Linked DNA regions of Homo sapiens: all the other regions are linked to region 1. The links are contacts of gene promoters, found by promoter capture Hi-C in human tissues and cell types (Jung and others, 2019). All regions are on one chromosome and are shown on one strand. The core of a region is centred on a gene start or on the middle of the fragment in contact, and the rest is flanking DNA. Distances in the headings are between cores, read along the strand shown. Region 1 holds the start of GPR132 (G protein-coupled receptor 132). Region 2 has its middle 22 kb from the start of CEP170B. Region 3 overlaps BRF1 (BRF1 general transcription factor IIIB subunit).

Evidence for each region. Contacts are between HindIII fragments. The study calls those that stand out against the background at their distance.
Region 2: a fragment that was not itself captured here is called in contact with the fragment with the promoter of GPR132 in region 1 in 2 of the 25 tissues and cell types used here (dorsolateral prefrontal cortex and lymphoblastoid cells).
Region 3: a contact is called between a fragment that was not itself captured here and the fragment with the promoter of GPR132 in region 1, in 1 of the 25 tissues and cell types used here (IMR-90 fibroblasts).

Annotation. Positions count from the first base shown.
Region 1 is chr14:105,063,462-105,067,660 of GRCh38, forward strand. GPR132 (G protein-coupled receptor 132) reads right to left here and starts at 1,969. Exons shown (of 4, transcript NM_013345.4): 1 at 1,918-1,969. RefSeq lists enhancers at 188-247, 658-797, 2,475-2,992, 2,668-2,837, 3,048-3,117 and 1 more. The HindIII fragment of the contact is 15,172 bases long and covers 1-4,199 here.
Region 2 is chr14:104,841,566-104,845,764 of GRCh38, forward strand. No RefSeq gene overlaps it. Among named protein-coding and RNA genes, the nearest start is that of CEP170B, 22 kb to the right of the region's middle. RefSeq lists enhancers at 2,539-3,150, 3,151-3,762. The HindIII fragment of the contact is 5,479 bases long and covers 1-4,199 here.
Region 3 is chr14:105,285,246-105,289,444 of GRCh38, forward strand. It overlaps BRF1 (BRF1 general transcription factor IIIB subunit), which reads right to left. Exons shown (of 18, transcript NM_001519.4): 2 at 1,051-1,131. Among named protein-coding and RNA genes, the nearest start is that of BRF1, 14 kb to the right of the region's middle. RefSeq lists an enhancer at 678-1,576. The HindIII fragment of the contact is 6,229 bases long and covers 1-4,199 here.

The DNA.
Region 1 (4,199 bases), core at 719-3,218:
CCTCCCGGGTTCAAGTGATTCTCCTGCCTCAGCCTCTGAAGTAGCTGGGATTAGCAGGCGCCTGCCACCATGCCCGGCTAATTTTTTGTATTTTTAGTAGAGAAGGGGTTTCGCCATATTGGTCAGGCTGGTCTTGAACTCCTGACCTCAGGTGATCCGCCCGCCTCGGCCTCCTAAAGTGCTGGGATTACAGGTGTGAGCCACCACGCCCAGCCTGTTTTGTAACTTATGATGGAACTTTTCAGACAGACACAAAAGGACAGAGAAGGAGCCCTGGCCCCTGCCATGTGCAGGGAGCAGTTCCTCATTCCAGCCCATTTGTCAAAAACAGCTCCTCAGGCTGCTGAGGTCTGTCTTGTGGACTATCTGTAATTTCTTTCTTTCTTTTTTTTTTTGAGACAGAGTTTCGCTCTCGTTGCCCAGGCTGGAGTGCAATGGCACGATCTCGGCTCACCACAACCTCCACCTCCTGGGTTCAAGTGAGTCTCCTGCCTCAGCCTCCCAAGTAAATGGGATTACAGGCGTGTGCCACCACGCCCGGCTAATTTTGTATTTTTAGTAGAGACAGGGTTTCACCATATTGGTTACGCTGGTCTCGAACTCCTGACCTCAGGTGATCCACCTGCCTTGGCCTCCCAAAGTGCTGGGATTACAGGCGTAAGCCACCGCACCTGGCTGGATTGCCTGTAATTTCTAAGCTGTTTCACGGTTGCTGGCCATTCCTAGCCATTTCCGTCTTTTACTCCCACCTGCTTTGGCACCAGGCAAACCTATGACCTCTTTTCTGCCGTCACGTTTGAGACAAACCCTAGGGAGGGAAATGTGGAGTCACCAGCTCCAACCTCCCTGCTCCACCACACCCATCCAAAGCCCATTGTCAACTTTCTTATTTTTCCCAATTTGATAGTGTTGCCCAGGCTAGAGTGCAATGGCGCGATCTCGGCTCACTGCAAGCTCCGCCTCTCAGGTTCAAGCGATTCTCCTGCCTCGGCCTCCCAAGTAGCTGGGATTACAGACGTGTGCCAACACGCCCGGCTAATTTTTGTATTTTTAGTAGAGACAGGGTATCACCATGTTGGTCAGGCTGGTCTCAAACTCCTGACCTCAAGTGATCCGCCCACCTCGGCCTCCCAAAGTGCTGGGATTACAGGCATGAACCACCGTGCCCAGCCCCTATCCTCATCTTCTTCCAGGAGCCTCTGCTCTCCCACCTCGGCCTGGCCAATCTCCTGAAATATCATTTTGTGCTCAGCCCAACTGGCCAGTCTTCAGTGGTCAGTCCCAGTCCCTTGCAGTGGTACAGACCCACGTCATGCACTTGACAGAAGGTATTGGGCCCCCCGCCCCGCTGTGCCTGGTGCGCCGAACGCCACTCCAAAGGCCGGTGACCTGCCCAGCTCCAGGATCTTGTCACGTGACTGGGCCAACTGCCACTCACCGCAGCACAGCCCCCACTGCCCTGCTTTTCCCTCTGTGTAACCCCACAAGCAGCACAGGCCCCACAGAGAGAAGCCCAGCCCTTCAGTGCCCCCCGACCAATCACGGAAGCAAGTGGCCAAGGAGAGATTCCAGGGACAAAGTCCAGCCCCCTGACTCACCCCCATCTGGACCAGTAGCCAGGGAAGCCTTTTCCAGAAGAAAGTCTCCAGGAAGGTGGCGGTGACAAAGATACAATGGAAACTGTTGTCCCTCTCCCCCAAATCCTCCGGCCCCATCACATCTGTGGTCACTGGGGGTCCTGGGTTCTCTCGGGAGGGACCCCAGATTAAGAACCCTCAACAAAGCCTCCATCTTTACCAACAAATCACCTTTGCCTTCAGATCCCCCTCTGCCCGCCTCCAGCTCCCAGCCCCCAGCCCCATCCCAGAGCCTGGCCCCCCAGGCCCACTCCCCAGCACGCAGAGCCCAGCGACTTACCCAGGGCCCCGCCTGCGTGGCTAGCCTCGCACCCCTCCCTGCAGTCCTAGCTGAGGTTTCAGGAAGTAGCAGGGGTCTAATTATGTTCTGTCTAGAACTCCCCTAACCACAAACAGGGCTGAGCTAGGGGTTAGCCAACCGGGCTGGGGTATCTTACTGGTGATGACAGCATGGCCTCGTCACCTTCCTGAGGGAGGGAGTGGCAGGAAACCCCAGTCTTACCTCTTTTAGCAATAGCAGCACTCAGAGCCAGGCTCCACTCACTCAGGAGCTCCCAGGCAGGTGCTGGGGCCTGGCGCGGCACAGCGGCTGTCCGTGTGTCCCCAGACAGGCAAGGCAGGACAGGGGTCCTGGAAAGGCTGCAGGGAGGGGTCCTGGAAAGACAAAATCCAGCTCCTCTGCAGCTCAGGCCTGGTGTTGCCCACTCTCGGGCCAGGCAAGCACGGAGCAGGGTGACTTCCCAGAGGCTGTGTCCTCCCAGGAGTCCCTGTCCGGGGTGCCAGGAGTAGAGAGGCTGAGTGCGCCCACTGCAGCCCCGGGACCAGGATGGCACCTGCATGTCCTGGAAGGCTCGGCACAGCCACTGCACACAAGCACCCTCCCCTCCCCGCCTCCCTCTTCCTACATGGGGCAGGGCCGTGTGGGAAGAACAGCCTACTGCACACTCCACATTCCTCCCCCAGCCCTACCTCAACCCCTCCTGCATCCAGAACCAAGCCTGGCCTGGCCCAGGAGCCCTGCGGGTGGGCTTCTCTGTGAGGGGCCCTGTGGGAACTGGAGGGTGGGCAGGCAGGGTTGCCTGGGACAGTCCCCCTCACTGTGGGGCTTCCGGCCATGATGGGCCCAGTTTCCTTGGACAAAGCCAGCTGGCTGTGGACAGCACCTACAACTCCACTCACCTCCAGGCTGCTTCTGAGTTTCAGGGCACAGACCCACCCTGGTGCCCACTCCCGAGCCTGCCAAGCTCCATCCAAGCCAGGCTCTTTCAGCAGTGGGGACAGGGCCGGGCTGAGGGAAGGAGCTGGGGACCACAAATGTCTCCAAGCGACACTGCCCAGCACCGCAGCAGGGACGGTCACTGAGCGAAGAAGCCGCCATCCTGGGTGGGTACACCCACGGCCAGGAGAGGCCGGTGGAGGCCGAGCCCCCAGTCTACACTTTCCCCCAGACACGTGGATCACAGCTGCCCCCTGCTGCAGGGCCGCATGGCTGGAGGCTGCCTCCGAACAGCGATTTCAGAGGGTTTTGTGTGGGTGGCAGTGGAGTCCCTGGAAAGCTGGGCTTTCCCATTGCCCTGGCGGGGAGGCGCAGGTCTCAGGGCAGGGCCTACCTTGGCTTTCCAGAAACACTTGCCCAGGGGACAGTGATCCTCTAGGGGATCTGGTGCAAACACACGCCTCCACAGGCCACTGCTCATGGGGTCACTGGCCTCCCGGGTCTTTGGGCCAGGGCAGCCCCACCCTCGGAGCAGCAATAGACGAAGCCCACATCAGGCCAGTGGGGGTGATGGCCAGGGACAGCTGTGGGTTCCTGTCGCTGGCCCCAGCAGCCTCCTAGGACCTGCCCCGTCCTGCGCCCCACTGGGTGGTCTGTCACGTTCACCAGGCCTCCTCTGCGCCCCCGGTGAGGGGTCCAGGAGTGACATGCGGACCCGGCTCAGGCCATTGTCACCCTCCATGCCTTCTGGCCTTTGCCAGGCAGTCCGGGAATAGCCGATTCAAGTGAGGTCAGTTGAATCCTCTCTTTGGGTCCTTCACTGGGGTCTGGGAAAGGAAAGTTGGGTCCCTTGGGTGGCAGGAGCTGTGGGTATGAACTGGGGGGTTGGCAGCCGTGTACCGGCTCCCCTGCCCCTGCCAGGTGGAGAAGCCAGGCTGGGGTGGAGGGCAGGCAGGAGCCTGGGAGTCCAAACACTGACAGCCTGGGGGTGTGGACTGGCCCTGCCTATTCCCACCGGGCCTTCGGGACCAGTGGAGGCTGCCCCGGGCTGTGCGGCACCTGGGGTGTTGTCTCTGAGAAGCCCGTCAGGGAGATGGCTCTCCCTGCTCTGACCCCAGCAAAGCGATTCATACCCAGAGAATCCCTCACCAACAGGAGAGCAGGTTTCAGACAGGAAGTCACCCGAACATCCCACGGCTGAGTCACGTGCCAGAACAGCTCCCTGCGGCCCAGACACAGCAGTGGTGAGGTCCAAGCTGCAGACATGGGGTACAACTTCACATCCCGATGTGTGCACCAGAAACCGCCCTGCTGTCCGGTGGGTTCACCAGCCGTTCTCCTGGCCT
Region 2 (4,199 bases), core at 853-3,352, 220 kb before region 1:
GATTGCTGGGTCAATGTCCATTTGCCTTCTTAATTGTGTTTGCAGTTGAGAGGCTGCTTCCCAAGGTGATTGTTGTAATGATTTTCATTTCCGCCATCAGCAAATGAGGGTCCCTGGGGCCCTCACACCTCTGGGAGCACTAGGTGCTAGGTTGTCTTCTGTGTCTGACACCTGGGGGTAGATCCCTGTGTGAGCAGTGCTTTAGCTGACACTTCCCTGATGGCTAGTGAATTAGAACTTCTTCAAATGTTTGTTAACCATTTCATATTGCTCTTCTATGAATTGCTTATTTATAACCTTTGCTCATTTTTCTATTTCATTCCCTTCTTTCCTTCCTTCCTTCCTTTCTTCCTTCCTTCCTCCTTCCCTTCCTCCCTCCCTCCTTCCTCCCCTTCCTCCCTCCCTCCCTCCTTCCCTCCTTCCTCCCCTTCCTCCCTCCCTCCCTTACTCCCTTCTTTCCTTCCTTCCTTCTCCTCTCTTTCTTTCTTTTTGACAGGGTCTTGTTCTGTCACCCAGGCTGGAGTGCAGTGGCACGATCATGGCTCACTGCACCTCAACCACCCAGGCTCTAGCAATCCTCCCATCTCAGACCCCCAAATAGCTGGGGACTAAGGGTATGTGCCATCGCGCCTGGCTAATTTTTGTATTTTTTGTAGAGACAGAGTTTCGCCATGTTGTCTAGGCTAGAACTAGTCTCAAACTCCTGGACTCAAGCGATCTGCCCACCTCAGCCTTCCAGAGTGCTAGGATTACAGGCGTGAGCCATTGCGCCTGGCCACACTTTTCTTTTTTGTTCTTTTCTTGGCTGTTCTTCAGCATTTATTCTTCCATATACACTTTAAGATAGTTTTAGTCATTGAAAAGATCTGGGGTTCTACCTGGTATTGCTTTCTTTTGTCCAGATATTGCTCCATATCATTCCATGTTTTCTTCCTATAGGTTCTGTGCCTTCCTTAGTGATTTTCTTAAGCTTTTTATATTTCTTTGTCGCTCTTCTGGATGGGATAGATTTCCCATTGCCTTTGCCAGAAGCTCATTATTGGAATGGAAAGAAAGATTGATCATTGAGCATACTTCTTCTCTTCTCAATTTACCAGATTATTTTATTAAGGCCAGCAGTTTTTACTTGAGTCTCTTAGATCGTTCAGGTGTTCAAGCATATCATCATCAAGAAGAAGAGCTTGGCCAGGTGCCGTGGCTCACACATATAATCCCAGCAGTTTGGGCAGCGGATACAGGAGGATCACTTGAGCCTAGGAGTTTGAGACCAATCTGGGCAACATAGTAAGACCCTCATCTCTATAAAAAAATGTAAAAATAAAAAAAGAAGGGGAAGCTCTGTAATCCTTTTTTACCAATGTTTACGCCAATTATTTCACTTTTATTATGTGCACAAGTGGGTGGCTACCTTCTCCTCTGTACCATCTGTTATTGGGGGCTGGGGGCTCCCGCCTTTCCCTGTGCTGTGGAATAAGTGCATTGGGTCAGACCTGTCTGTTCTCTGCAGGTAAGCAGAGCCCTGCTCTCCTCCTCCTCCCCACTGCCTTTGCTCATGGCCTCGGCCGGGCCCTGCTGGAAACACCAGGTGCTCGCTCCCAGCAGAGGTTTGAACCTCTGTCCCTGCAAGCTTGGGGGTTGGGGTCCTGGCAGATGAGGTACCAGGAGGCCCTTTGGGGGAGGCCCAGGCTCTTTGACTGATGGTCTGCGGGTGTGAGCCCCCAAGTTCTAGGCCTGGGGGCCGAAAGGAAGAAGCTTCGAGGAAGAGTCAAGCAGGCCACCTTGGGCATACGTGCTGTCACCCCGGGATGCCCGCCCAGCGCGCCAAGCCCCCCACGCTCACCTGTAAGTGCAGGTGGTGCTGGAGGCCAGGCCGGGGCCCTGCAGGGGCAGGCACACAGTGGGGCTCCGTCGCCGCAGCGCCCCGGCGGCCTCCTCCTGGCCGCTGGCCCTCCCCTAAGGCTTCCTCATCCTAAACAGCAAGTGAAGCCAAACGAAAACCCTGTCTCTCCCGCCGTTCCCTCCCTCCTGGCCTCCGTCCCCCGGGCTCGCCTGCCCCGCCGCCCGGCGGACCGGTCCCTTCCTGCTTTCCCTGGCGGGTGCTTTCCGCTGCTCTGTTACCCGGAGCCAGGACGCGCATATATTCCCAGAATCCGCGCTCAGTGCGTTCGGTCCCCCGGGACACCTGTTCTCTGCACAGGCGCGTCTGGGCGCAGCGGGGGCAGACACGCGTTCCCGGGCAGCGACTCCGGAAGGCCCGAGGGAGTAAATCTGGCCCTCCCGGTTCAGCACAAAGCTCCCCTGGCCGCCTTTCAAAACCGACCGCCTCCCAACTCTCCGCGGACACGAGTGGCGGCTGCCTCCCCTCCCCTCCCCTAGGGCCGCGCACGCCTCCCGCAGGGTCTCAGTGCCTCCTGGGCGGGGGATAATTCCTGTCCCCACCGGTGTCCTGTACTCGCGGGGTCCCGGGTGTAAGTTCTGGGTCCCGGGCTGGCTCCCTGGTGAGCAAAGCCGCATCGCTCGAATTCCAGAAACCCTTCTCGCCGAGCGCCTGCCTGGCTGCTGAAAGCCTGGAGACTGCGCTCTCGGAGGTGGATTTCGGAACTCAGGAGAGAAGAATGAGACGCTCCCTAGTACCCCTAGTCCCCCAGGGGTGGGAGGGGACTGTATCTCAAAATAAGATTCTGCAACTCGACTTTTATAGGGGAAACCAGGCACGCATTTCAAAATCTTCTCATCCGTCCCCACCTCCTTGCGCCGCTTTTCCGCGCCTCCTGTGCCACGGAAGCTGCCCTCTGCTCCTGCTGTTTCCAGCCCGGCAGCCCCCAGACAGGATCTAGCTTGGCCCAGCCGGGCCCTGCTTCCTCTGCCTGGGGTCCTCAGGCCATGCAAGTGAGGAAACCCAGGCTCAGAGGGGCCACGTAACTCTTCCCAAATCACCAGCAAGCCTGGTGCAGCCACGGTGGCGCGCATTCGCCCACTCGGAGACCGAGAGGCAGGTTTTCTGCCTGCACAGCCTCCCGCCCAAGGCCAGACCTGCTGGAGGCCCAGGCCCTGGAGATGGCTGTCTTCAGGGAGACTCTTTATGTCACGCTCATTCACTCCCTAGCGCCTCTTTCTGGCAACGGATGTGTCCAGCGTTCAGGTCTCTTAACTTACGGTCTCCGTTTTTCCAAGTTTGGAAATCAGCTCAGAGCAGAGCGGGCAAAGAGGGGCTTTCACTGGTGCTCAGAGCTCACCTGCGAAGGAGGGACCACAGCCTCCGGGATGCAGCGCCCTGGCTGCCTACTGCTGGCTGGCTGGCCCCTCCCCTGCAGATTCCTCCTCACCCAGCCCCGCACAGGCTGAGGGCTTCACTAACCAGAACCATAGTGTGACAAATGCACACTGGGGGGTTACGGAGGAAGAGCAGAGTTGGGGTCAGAAGGCATTTACCCTGAGAAAAAAGGGCACATGGCACACAACCCATGAAGGGAAGGGAGAGGAACAGCATGTGCAAAAGCTCAGAGTTCAGAGTGGTGGCCTGGAGCTTAGCTGGAGTCAAAGGTGATGGTGGGAGGTGAGGGTCTGGTGCAGGTGGTTCTCCCAAGCTGGGCTGAGCTGTATGACTTGACCCTGAGGGGCATGCGGGCCAGGCTGTGTTTTGTGGGGAGGCAGGAGCCAGGACACAGATTGGGGGAAAGGGGTAAAGGAGCCTGGTCCCTGCGGCCGCCTGCTTACCTAGGACCTCAGGACTTGGGGAATAAGTGGCCATCCTTTGGAATGCTCTCAAGGGATCTCAGATAAGGGGAGGCAGAAGAGTGTTCTGGAGAAAGCAGGGCCCATCCTTCTCCACCCCACCACCCTCTCCCCATGTCCCTGGAGCTGGCTCCTCTCCCACAAGCCAGGCCTGGCCAGCCCCTGGTATCTCACCCTGCCAAAGAGCTATGTAGTGGCAGTTCCACACCCTGTGCCCCTCCCCCACCCCACCCACAGTGAGGACCCCCTGGTGTTGGGGACACTCCGGGTCTGTGGGATTTCTCCAGAAGCAGACTCAGACAGGGATTGGCACCCACACTGAAAAGTTAACATAGTCTAAATATGTGTGTCCCTCCCAAGTTCACATGTGATGGTGGTATTAGGGGGTAGGGCCTTTGGGAGGTGATTAGGTCATGAGAGCACAGCCCTTAGGAATGGCAATAGTACCTTTATAAAAATGGCCC
Region 3 (4,199 bases), core at 509-3,008, 220 kb after region 1:
GTTCCTGATTTCAAAACTGACTGCGAAGCTTCAGTGTCCTGAACAGCGTGGAACGGGCACCAGGACTGTCATGCAGTCACTAAGCCAAACTGAGGATCCAGAAATGAGCTTTTAGGTTTACGGTCAATCGATTTTCAGCAAGGGCACCAAGAGGATGCCAACTGGCAAAATACAGTGTTTTCAACACATGGTCCTGAGAAAACTGGGTCTGCACGTGCAGGAGTGAAGGCAGGCCCTTACCTTACATCACATGCAAACGCTGACTCAATATGGACCAAAACCTACTGGAAAGAGAGGAAGGCGCAAAACTCCAAAAAATCATAAGCACAAATCTTCACGATTTGGACTGGATTAGGCAACATTTGTTAGTTATGATACCAAAAGCACAGCCATCAAGAGACTAAATAGGTAAACTGGATACTATCAGAATTTAAAACTTTCATGCTCCAAAGGATACCAGCGAAAAATAAAAAGACAAAAGAAAATGAAAAGAACGCATGAAATGGCTGAAAATGTCCTATAAATCACACATCCGATAAAAGACTTGTACCTAAAACACATAAAATCACACATCCGATAAACGACTTGCACCTAAAATATATAAAATCACACATCCGATAAAAGACTTGTACCTAAAACACATAAAGAACTTTTTCAACTCAATCATAAGACAAATAACCCAGCAGACATTTCTCCAGTTTGTGGTGAACTGGCACTTTGACAAAACGCAGTGAGAATGTCACTACAATATCCAACTGCTATAAATGTGTTATTTCTGCCTCCATCTCACTGAGGCCATCAAGCAATGGCTGTGGATCCTGTGGGATCCACTGGGTTCTCCCCAAACAGCCCTGGCAGAGTCTGCAGGACACCCAGGAGGGGACTCAGGGCACAATTCCTCCTGGAAAGCAGCCTGGGCTGGGCGTGCAGGGTGACGAGGAAGTGGCAGGCCATGAGGTCCATGGCTGAGTCAGTGCCCTCCACCCTAGCACCACCATCCCCATCTCTGGGACCCGCCGCACGCTCAGCAGCATCCGCGGTGGGAAATACCATTCTGCAGGGTCTGCGCTCTCGACTCCTTCCCCAGATTCACGTGGAAGCCGCCACCCAGAGTCGGGGTTTTGCCAGCACCTGGAAACACAAAAAAAGACAGATCAGCCAAAACTTGGAGATCTGCATTTACAACCCTTTCCTAACATCCACAGACACAAAGTGAGAACAAAGCGGGGGTCAGCACTCATGGGGGAAGCAGCAGGTCGGCCCCCCGCACCTCCGTCACTGAGCCAGGAACCCCAGTGGGGGAAGCATCTCTCACTCTGCCCAGCCAGCAGGGTTGAGGGTGGGCCAACTGCACTTTCCGCATTTTCTTTTTTTTTTTGAGACGGAGTCTCCCTCTGTTGCCCAGGCTGGAGTGCAGTGGTCCCATCTCCACTCACTGCAAGCTCCGCCTCCTGGGTTCACGCCATTCTCCTGCCTCAGCCTTCCAAGTAGCTGGGACTATAGGTGCCCGCCACCACGCCCGGCTGGGATTACAGGCACTTTCTGCATTTTCTAACCATGTCCCTAACACACTGCAAGTCCAGAGTGGACGCTGTCAAATGGCTGCCGGGCGAGAACACAGATGTACCTCCAAACCTCTGCAAGTGGTGCACACACAGCATGGGCTGGCCGTCCCCCTTGCCCCAGGCCAGCCCACTCAGATATCACTCCTGCATGGTGACCACATGTGAACACATCCACCTCCCTGCTGGACTGCAGGGGACGCAGGTACCATCCCATGTGCCCCAAGGCACTGCAACCAGCCAGTCTGCAGAAGGCCCCCACGCCTCAGTCCACCCACCCATGGGGAGGCTGCAGCTGAACCTGCTGGACACTCTACTCCGAAGCTCTGCCAACTGACAGCATGCCTACGACGTCCACCACATTCTGCCCTGCAGGGCTTCGGGGTTAAGACCTGGCCCTGGTACCTCTGGAAACATCAGGTGGACATTTGGATTGTTCACCAGGTTCACCAGCCCGATCGCTGCAGCCTGATCTCCCAATGAGCATGGTGGACATGTGGATTGTTCACCAGGTTCACCAACCCAAACGCTGCGGCCTGATCTTCCAACGAGAACAGTAAGGTGAGGCCCCAGGCATGCCCAAAGATGGGGAGAGCTGGAAAGTGCCCCCCGCCCCGCAGCGTCGGCCCTCAGTGGTTGGCACAGGGGCCAGTGCATTTGTGACAAAGCACAGACACAGGACTGGAGGCTGCTGCAATCGGGACGCGCAGACAACCTTGGCCACTTGGGGGAAGGCAAGTGTGTAGGGCCTGTCGGAGGACACTGGAAGGATAGGATGCAGAAGCAGAAAGCCAATCGCTGGAGCCTGGGGCCAGGCCCTCCAGGGAAACCATGAGGCAGGGACCTCAGCGTCATCCAGGGGCAGCCACCAGCACAGACAAGGCAGAACAGGCACGGCCTCTGGCTTCACAATGAATGTAACTGAATCCCAAACAAATACTAACAACACTCTTTAAAGACTCCAGTAAAATGATTCTAAAGTTCAGTTGGAAGCAAAAAGGAATTAGAGCAGCCAAGAAAAGTTTTGAAGAGAGCAAGGGGCAGCTACTGGGCCCGTCCGGAAACTCAGAGCTGAACAGGGTCAGGTGGCACTCAGCTTTTCCTGGTGGCAGCAGAGGCAAAGCCCGGGCCTCCTTCAGGCTGAGGCCCAGAGCCGGCCTCCTGGTGGGTAACGTGGCCACAGGGGTGGCCGGCAGCAGCAGCAGGGCACCAGCACTGAGCACAGGCCTCCAACAAAGGTGGTGCCGGGACGGGGGCAGTGCCTGGAGACTACCTAGGTTGTCACAACTGGGATCTATGTACTAGTTTTCTGTGGCTGCCATAAAAATTGCCACAAACCTAGTGGCTTTCAAGAAGCTGTAGAAGGTCCGGGCGCGGTGGCTCACGCTTGTAATCCCGGCACTTTGGGAGGCCGAGGTGGGTGGATCACGAGGTCAGGAGATCGAGACCATCTTGGCGAACATGGTGAAACTCTGTCTCTACTAAAAATACAAAATTAGCCAGGCGTGGTGGCGGGTGCCTGTGATCCCAGCTACTCAGGAGGCTGAGGCAGGAGAATCGCTTGAACCCAGGAGGTGGAGGTTGCAGTGAGCAGAGATGGTGCCACTGCACTCCAGCCTGGGTGACAGAGCAAGACTCCGTCTCAAAAAAATAAAAATAAAAATAAAAATAAAATAAAGTAAAAAAGAAGCTGGAGTGGTGGCCGGGCATGGTGGCTCACACCTGTGGTCCCAACACTTTGGGAGGCCGGAGCAGGAAGATCGCCCAACCCAGGAGTTCAATACCAGCCTGGGCAACACGGGGAGACCCATTTCTTTCTTTCTTTCTTTCTTTTTTTTTTTTTTGAAACAGAGTTTCGCTCTGTCACCCAGGCTGGAGTGCAGTGGCGTGATCTTGGCTCACTGCAAGCTCTGCCTCCTGGGTTCATGCCATTCTCCTGCCTCAGCCTCCCGAGTAGCTGGGACTACAGGTGCCTGCAACCACGCCCGGCTAATTTTTTGTGTTTTTAGTAGAGACGGGGTTTCACTGTGTTAGCCAGGATGGGGGGAGACCCATTTCTACAAAAAAAAACTGAAAAAAATTAGCTGGGTGTGGTGGCACCTGCTTGTGGTCCTACTACTCAGGAGGCTGAGGTTGGAGGATCACTAGAGCCCGGGAGGTCGAGGCTGCAATGAGCTGAGATCGTGCCACTGCACTCCAGCCTGGGTGACAGAGCAAGACCCTGTCTCAAAAAAAAAAAAAAAAAGAAGCTAGAACAGGCCAGGCATAGTGGCTCACATCTGTAATCACAGCACTTTGAGAGGCTGAGGCAGGAAGACTGCTTGAGCCCAGGAGTTCAAGACCAGCCTGGACAACATAGCAAGATCCCATCTCTACAAAAAAAAAATGAGCGGGGTATGGTAGGGCATGCCTGTGGTCCCAGCTACTCAGGTGGCTGAGGCAGGCAGATCGTTTGAGTCCAGAAGGTGGAGGCTGCAGTGAGCTGTGATGCACCTCTGCACTCCAGCCTGAGCAACACGGTGAGAACCTGTCTGAACAAATAATAAACTAAACAGAAGCTGGAGCAGGTCGCAGTGGTGTCTCCTTGTGGGGGCTGGAGAGGACCTGGCAGGGCCACAGTGAGGTGCCTGCTGATAT